Linked DNA regions of Homo sapiens: regions 1 and 3 are each linked to region 2. Evidence: promoter capture Hi-C in 16 types of primary human blood cells and fetal thymus (Javierre and others, 2016). All regions are on one chromosome and are shown on one strand. The core of a region is centred on a gene start or on the middle of the fragment in contact, and the rest is flanking DNA. Distances in the headings are between cores, read along the strand shown. Region 1 overlaps TENT4A (terminal nucleotidyltransferase 4A). Region 2 holds the start of ADAMTS16 (ADAM metallopeptidase with thrombospondin type 1 motif 16). Region 3 has its middle 13 kb from the start of LINC01018.

Evidence for each region. The method cuts DNA at HindIII sites, captures the fragments that hold promoters and counts their contacts. A CHiCAGO score of 5 or more calls a contact.
Region 1: a fragment that was not itself captured here is called in contact with the fragment with the promoter of ADAMTS16 in region 2 in 3 of 17 cell types (total B cells, naive B cells and naive CD8 T cells); the score reaches 10.8 in total B cells.
Region 3: a contact is called between a fragment that was not itself captured here and the fragment with the promoter of ADAMTS16 in region 2, in 1 of 17 cell types (M2 macrophages). The highest score is 6.4, in M2 macrophages.

Annotation. Positions count from the first base shown.
Region 1 is chr5:6,750,243-6,752,942 of GRCh38, forward strand. TENT4A (terminal nucleotidyltransferase 4A) reads left to right here. Exons shown (of 13, transcript NM_006999.6): 10 at 89-261; 11 at 797-955; 12 at 2,631-2,700. Among named protein-coding and RNA genes, the nearest start is that of TENT4A, 38 kb to the left of the region's middle. The HindIII fragment of the contact is 7,499 bases long and covers 1-2,700 here.
Region 2 is chr5:5,138,918-5,141,617 of GRCh38, forward strand. It overlaps ADAMTS16 (ADAM metallopeptidase with thrombospondin type 1 motif 16), which reads left to right and starts at 1,413. Exons shown (of 23, transcript NM_139056.4): 1 at 1,413-1,622; 2 at 1,747-1,849. The coding sequence starts at 1,551. It overlaps ADAMTS16-DT (ADAMTS16 divergent transcript), which reads right to left and starts at 1,137. Exons shown (of 4, transcript NR_109915.1): 1 at 1,039-1,137. RefSeq lists an enhancer at 619-1,185. The HindIII fragment of the contact is 3,896 bases long and covers 1-2,700 here.
Region 3 is chr5:6,568,248-6,570,947 of GRCh38, forward strand. No RefSeq gene overlaps it. Among named protein-coding and RNA genes, the nearest start is that of LINC01018, 13 kb to the right of the region's middle. The HindIII fragment of the contact is 5,226 bases long and covers 1-2,700 here.

The DNA of each region.
Region 1 (2,700 bases), core at 111-2,610, 1.6 Mb after region 2:
GCTCAGCAGAGCCCGTGACTGATGCTGCCGGGGCGGCTCCACGCCGCAGTTCTCAGGAGTTATTAACCAAGGCTTTTTCCCTCCACAGACAGCAGGATCAAGATCAAAGAGCGAATAGCCACATGCAATGGGGAGCAGACGCAGAACCGAGAGCCCGAGTCTCCCTATGGCCAGCGCTTGACTTTGTCGCTGTCCAGCCCCCAGCTCCTGTCTTCAGGCTCCTCGGCCTCTTCTGTGTCTTCACTTTCTGGGAGTGACGTTGTAAGTGCCCTCCCCTCCTCCGTGTGTCTGTTGGACAGTTTGTGTCTCTGGTAAATGTCCATAGCCGCGAGCTTAAAATCTCCCCCTTGGTTTTGCTCAGGTTTTGTTTCCTTGTATGTGTGTGGAGGTGGGTGGGGGGCAGCCCCGTGATGTGGGCACCAGGCTTCCTTTCCCCTGCCGTGAACCTTCAGAACCTGTCTGTGCGACTCATGCGGCTGTCGAGGGCAGTAATCCTCTAAATGGTTGAACTACAGTGGACTTCCTTGAGTAGTTTTTAAAAATTTATTTGAAGATTAAAAAAAAAATTAAATCCAAGTATCTCTTCTGTATTTCCTTTAACATTCTTTTTCAGTTGTGATGAAATTACTTGAAGGAAGCCTGGGTAGGTTTGGGCTGCCTGTTCAGAAGTTAGACTTAATTTGAATAACCTTTCATAGCCAGCCTGGATGCAGGCGTTTCTTTTCATAGCTTTAAGGAAGTAGTAGTGCACCTTTGTGGTACAGCTGTCCTTTTTGTTTTTTGTACCGGGTTCAAGGATTCAGACACACCGCCCTGCACAACGCCCAGTGTTTACCAGTTCAGTCTGCAAGCGCCAGCTCCTCTCATGGCCGGCTTACCCACCGCCTTGCCAATGCCCAGTGGCAAACCTCAGCCCACCACTTCCAGAACACTGATCATGACAACCAACAATCAGGTACGTGGCCCTCTGGCACCCTTCCCGCTGGTGGCCCCTGGGAACAGCATCCGAGCTGTGATATGCACTAGAGGAGATTGATGGTCCTTTGAATTAGAAGAGTAACTTTTTGAGTATTTGGCCATTGGTGTGTTGTTCTAGGAAATCCTCTCTTTTTTGTGGTGTTGAGGTCCCCCATGTATAGTTTCAGCAGCGAGGACACTGTGGTTCTTGAGTGCTGCCGTGGCTTTTCACGGGGGCCAGGTTGACTGCCTTCCTGCAAGTTTCCTCACTGCCCCAGCATGAGACTGCTGTCGAGGGTCATCTTGAGAGAGCGACTCAGTCACGACCCACTTAGCTGGGCGCCAAGCCGTGCCAGACACTTGTCCCTACTTCCTCTCAGAATCTCAATGAAAGTTTTAATGTGAACTTATTAGACTTTTTTCATGTTTGAAATTAGGCATAATTTCTAAGGCTTTTTCTGTTGGAATATACTGTTTTTAAAATTTAGATAAAATTAGAAATCTAAAGGATAATTTTATAAATACTAAATTTTGTATCTACTTGCGATTATACATCACTTGAATATGTGTGGGTATAAAACCCAACATGTTAATTGACTTAAAACCATTTTCTGAAATGTGGGGTATAATTTGAGCATAAAGCTATGTAGGTACATGCAAAAGTGTTTTGACTCATTTCTTGGAGTTTTGCACTCTGCTCTGGGGAAGACATTCTCACAGGATCCACCGTGATTCTGGCGGAGCTTCTGGGATGCTGGCTCTGTAATGACCCACAGAGCTGATGAGCAGAGCCATGGCCCAGCCGGACACCGTAACGTGTCTAATTGCAGCATAAGTGTAAAATTCAGGGGCAATTATTTACACTCTTAAAATGAATTATACCACAGATAAACTTGGTCGCCTTTTTATGGTCATCACAGTGGCCCTGACGTCCTGGCCATGTGTCACAAAGGTGTTTGTTTTAACCACCCACAAGCCTTGGGGCCCTTGAGAGCCCAGTGCGGCTGCTGAGCTACAGAGCCACACTCTGCGGCTGCTTGTGTGGTTCGAGTGTGAAGTCCAGGGACGCTGAGGGTTTATAGGTTTTTATCTAAGAAGACTCTTGGCCACAGTCAATCTCCAGAGGTTGTTGGGGTAAATGCACGGGATGCCAAGATGCAACCAGGTCAGTATTGCAAGTCTGAGAAAAGGGGTTCTCGTTAGCGCACTTCTGCTGCTGACAGTAACGGGTGATGCTGACATAGAAGCAGCCTGGGACCTGGACAGCAGGCAAGGAAGGAACTGCCAGCCGTCCCACGGCCTCTCAGGCCACCAGTTGGGCCAGCCTTGGGCTGTGACCCCTGAGTTCAGCGTGTGAGTAGGGGGTTCACCACGGGGGTGACGGTTGTTCTTCTGATGACTCTAATGTCTTGATCGTTTGATCTTCAATGAGTTTCAAACTTTATGACTTGGATTACTGGGCATACTTTATATGCCAGTTGCTGTTTTAGAATACGAAGTATTTCCAATTCAAAGCACAATATTGTTAGGTAATAGTAAAACAGACTGCTCTATGGAGCCCACATGCAACTGTGCCATTTATCAGCTGCCCTTTGGTGGTGCTGAGCTTAGAAGCCGGATGGTTTTCCTCTGATTGCTTTGGTACCCATGGCCGTCTCTCATTTTGTTCCTAGACCAGGTTTACTATACCTCCACCGACCCTAGGGGTTGCTCCTGTTCCTTGCAGACAAGCTGGTGTAGAAG
Region 2 (2,700 bases), core at 163-2,662:
CGGCCTCCCAAAGTGCTGGGATTACAGGCGTGAGCCACCGCGCCCGGCCTACTGCTCACTCTTTGGGTCCACTCTGCTTTCATGAGCTGTAACACTCACCGTGAAGATCTGCAGCTTCACTCCTGAGCCCAGCGAGACCACGAGCCCACCGGGAAGAACGAACAACTCCAGAGGCTCTGCCTTAAGAGCTGTAACACTCACCGCCTAGGTCTGCAGCTTCAATCCTGAGCCAGCGAGACCACGAACCCACCAGAAGGAAGAAACTCCGAACACATCTGAACATCAGAAGTAACAAACTCCAGACGCACCACCTTAAGAGCTGTACCCACTCACCGCGAGGGTATGCGGCTTCATTCTTGAAGTCAGTGAGACCAAGAACCCACCAATTCCAGACACACTATGGGCTCACAGCGTGTACTCGCGCACACGCAGTCAGGTGTGGATGTACACCCGCGCACACCCAGGCACATGTACACCCGCGCGCTCACACACCCCATCCAGCTACAGCAGAATTCTGGCCAGGCTGTTGACCGCACACCTGCTGCCTCCTTGGCCACCCTGTCCACACAGTAGCCCGATCGACCCCCGTGGCGGCCGAGACCCAGGCCCATCCGCAGCCCTGAGACCTCCCTAGGGATTGCACCCAGCAGCCAGTCACCGGCCTCCGCGGCCTGGCCAGTTGAGGGTGGCCGTGACCGCGGGGCCAGGAGCGCCGCCACATCTCGGGGCAAATGGCGCGGGGGAAGAGTTTCCTCCTCAGCCTCCCCGTCTCCGATCGCTCCGCAAACTCCAGAGCGAGGCACGCGCCTTTAAAGGCAGGTCCGCGGCTCTCCCACGTCCTGGCGCCCGGTTTTCCGCACCCAGTGTCCCCACAGCTGTGCCCGGGCACAGAGGCGCGGCCAGACCGCACTCCGCGGGCTGCAGGTGTCCCGGCCTCTGGCGGCGCCGGTGCGGCCCGGAGGTGGGAGCCCGCGGAGCCACTGCAGTAGCTGGAGTCCCGCCGAGTCCCCAGCCCCAAGGCAGGGCAGGAGCGCGCACCGGCCGGAGGTCCATGCTGAGCATCGCCCGCGCCGGTGCCCGGCAGCCTCTCCAACTGTGTGGTCCCCGCGCGGGCAGAGAGGCACGGACTGCAGGCCGTGGGCAGCTCCATCTTCCCGCGTCCTCCTCCTCTGGCGCTGCCCGCTGTCTCCCGCCTTCCCTCTGCTCCCCGCTCGCCTCCGCCTCAGCGCCCCGCTGACCTCGCCTCCTCCCCTCTGCTCTTTGTCCCTGCACTCTCCCCTCCTCGGTCCTCTGACCCCCCCGCCCTCACCTCCTCCCCTCCTCTCTCCCCTGCCCGCCCCGCGCTCTCCCACCGCTCCCGCCGCCCCCGCCGCCGCGGCTGCCACTCCGCCCCCCGCGCCGCACGGAGCTTCAGTAATAACCCCGGCGCGGCGGCGGAGTCGCTGTGGGGAATCCTCCCGCGCTCTGCCTGGGTCGGGTCCTCCCTGCCCGCTCGCACGCTGCCGGCCGGGGACCCTCCGGTGGCCCCTAGCCCCTCGGAGCGCTCCTGGATGAAGCCCCGCGCGCGCGGATGGCGGGGCTTGGCGGCGCTGTGGATGCTGTTGGCGCAGGTGGCCGAGCAGGTGAGTCCCGGGCGCTCCCACCAGCGCGGAAACCGCGGGTCCGGACAGCTGGAGGCGAGTCCCCCGCGGCTCCTCTCCCGCGGACCCCGCCGTCTCACCGCGATGTCGCCGCTGTTTTCCGCAGGCACCTGCGTGCGCCATGGGACCCGCAGCGGCAGCGCCTGGGAGCCCGAGCGTCCCGCGTCCTCCTCCACCCGCGGAGCGGCCGGGCTGGATGGAAAAGGGCGGTAAGTCCGTGAGGTGGGGGCTTCTAATCCTTGCCATTTAGCAGCTCGTAATCTCCGTGCCGCTGGTTTATTAGGTGCTGTGAATGTTCACGACTCTGTGGAACCCTACTTTTAAGATGCTGTTGTGAACTTTTTTTTTTTTTAACTGTATGAGCGAGCCCCGATGAGTGGATTTCCACCAATATTTACATTTTATTCCCTGGCAAAACGGTTTGCCAGAGTTATTGATATAACATTAGGAAAAAGGTGAGGAAGTTCATTTTATTTTATTCTAAAGAGCTTAGGAAGAATCTAAAGCTATTAATGTATGCATCAAAGCCGTCATAAAGAGCAAATTACTTTCTTTTCCGTCCCCTTCTACATCCTCGGATCCTCCTTCCCGTCCCCAACCTTTCCTCCTTCTCCTCCTTTATAGATTAAAATATTCCTCTATCGTTGCTTATTCTCAGTGAAGGAGATAAAAGAAGCGCTTAGCATCTCAATACCAAAGTTAATGCTCCAACAATCAGGGCGTACTTCAAACATAATAGTGCCTGAAATGGCTAATCAGCTGATTGTGACACCATCAGCAACGTTCATATCCTGGGCCACAATTTGACATGAGGGCAAGTCTTATTCTTTTTCAATGCATGCTTTTACTTCTGCCACTTACAAGTGACATTTGGAAATTTGCTGTCTTATGGAAAGGGATCTCTGTGTCTTCATACTGCATCAGGTAAATGAGAACGCAGGTGTGTCGCACTGGTTGCTAGGTGGTTTTTTAACCTGAACCCATCCAATGACAGTTAATAAATATTATTTTGCATTGTTACCAACAATAAATTGCCGTATCAAATGTTAATATTAATTGA
Region 3 (2,700 bases), core at 14-2,513, 1.4 Mb after region 2:
ACCAGGGAACAGGAATCCTGAAGGCCATCTTAGAACTCTGCCCATCACACCTTCCCATGCCCATAAGATGTTTCACTGCATCTCATTTACCCGAAAGCACCCAGGTGATAACAGGTGCACACTGAGGTTCTCCACTTAGTTTGTGGAGCCTCGGGGGAAAAAAGGTTTTAGTCTGGGGTGTTGAAGGAATAAAGATGAGTCTTGACTTTTCCGAAGGGCCCTGCCTCTGTGTAACACCTGGGAAGCATCACTTGTAAGACACGCGCATTTGGAAGGGCCAGCACGAGCTGCTCCATCTCACTGGACAATGAGGTCCCTGGTGGTTTCCAATTAGGCTGAGCTCATTGGCTTAATAGTCCGGCCCCAGCTGTTGCCTGGGCTTGAAAGAAAGAAAACTGGGTCAAGCAAATGATTTCAGGCATTCAGAGCAGTTATTTCCACTAACCAGCCTGTCTGCCCTCTGGATACTGTCAGTGCTTTGAGAATGGGCTGGGTTATAGTTTCTCCACCATGGCTGCCCATCAAGACCACCCAGGGACCCACCCACCTAGACCTGTCATCTTAGGTTCTCTAAGGTGGGCCCAGGGTTTTCTCAAAGCCACTCGGGTGATTCTAATGGCCAGCCAGGGTGGAGAACCACTAGATTGGATAATCATTTGGGAAACCACTTCTCACAAGATGAAAATTAAAATACCAGTTGACTTTGTTGAAGGGGATTCAGTTTATTAGAGCAAGAAGTAGAGCCCTGCAGGGCGTGGAAATGCATTTTGGAAAGAAATGCAAATGGGGAGGAAATGGCTTGTTTCAGGACATCCAGATGCATTCTATGAGTGCGCATCGAGTACTCCCAAGTGCAGGGTGCTAAGACACAGACAGTTGTGCACAAGCTCAACAGGGGCCCTGCCTCCTGGAGCTGATAGTCCCCTGGAAATCAGACGGGAAGAAGGGGAAAGACGGGAAGGGGAAAGACGGGAGAGGGAGGGGATAATACAGTAGCAACACAATGTGTCCTTCAAGCTGCTAAGATCCTGAGCTTGTTTTTAAACTGGAGCACAGCAGAATTCAACTCTGCCTTTAGGTGAGAAAAATCACATCACATTTGTGTTAAGAGAAAACACATCCTGAAAATTTATGAATGAAATGATAGTGTCTCGTGTGTGTGTGTGTGTGTGCATCAGGGGACCAGTCTGCATAGATATAACTAGATTAGACAAAGGTTGTCACTTGTTGGAGCTGGGTGACAGCTGCATGAGGAAGGGTCATTGTGCCATTCTCCCCACTTTTGTATGATTGATATTTTCCATAAAAGAAACTTAACTAAATTAAATTAATAAATCAAGAGACAAAAGAATGACATATTCTGATGGTTAATACAGTGTCAACTTGATTGGACTGAAGGATGCAAAGTATTGATCCTGGGCGTGTCTGTGAGGGTGTTGCCAAAGGAGATTAACATTTGACTCAGTGGGCTGGGAAAGGTCGACCTACCCTTAATCTGGGTGGACACCATCTAATCAGCTGCCAGTATGGCTAGAACATAAAGCAGGCAGTAAAATATGAAAAGACTACACGGGCCTAGCCTCCCAGCCTACATCTTTCTCTCATGCCAGATGCTTCCTGCCCTCGAACATTGGACTCCAAGTTCTTCAGTTTTGGGACTCAGAATGGCTCTCCTTGCTCCTCAACTTGCAGAGGGCCTGTTGTGGGACCTTGTGATCATGTGGGTTAATACTTAATAAACTCCCCTTTATATGTGTGTGGGTGTATATATATATATATAAAGGAAACAGGGGATAGCCATGTTACAAATGCACTGAAGACCCCTGCTGATATATATATACACACACATATATATCCTATTATATATACACATATATATCCTATTATATATACACATATATATCCTATTATATATACACATATATATCCTATTATATATACACATATATATCCTATTATATATAATATATAATATATCCTATTAGTTCTGTCCCTCTAGAGAATCCTGACTAATACACATATCAATTAAAATTTTAAAGGTATATTTAAAAAAAAAAAGCTAAGAGTTCAAAGTGGAGCAGAGAACTGTTGTATGAAACCCTTAGCAATACTCAACTTTTCAAACTCTGCACATTACTACCTGGCACACGTATAAGTCTAGAAAGCAGACTTCTGCAAAACCCCATGTCGGGCTGCGAGCCCTGCCACAGCCTGTTGGCTGACGACATGGAGATTATCTGTTGTGGCGTGTGCCTCCCTTAGACACAGCACGAGTGGGGAGCAGCCTCAGGGTCCACAGGCCTGAACCCCCAGCACTGGGTACAGTGTGCAGCCCAGAGAGGGCCTGAAAAACCAATGGCTATTTACAGAGCAGAAATGAATCAACACAAGCACTCATTTTCTCCCCGTACCAAGTCCGGTCAAGCCCTTGTGGAAAACGTTTCCTGTTTGGGGATCCACATTTCCAAAGAACACATTGGACAGAGTCAAGAAGAAAGTCCTTAGCCAAGGCTAACAGCACAGGCTGGGGGAGGGGAACTGTACAGGGCCACGCTGCTTCTCCACAGCACACCCAATGGAGGACAAGTGGGTTTCTCTTCTGGAAACAGGGGATAAGCCACGTTAGGGATGCACTGAAGACCCCTGCTGAGTGACATCTTCACAGGCCCAGGCAGGTCCTGCCTGTTTTCTCACCAGCTG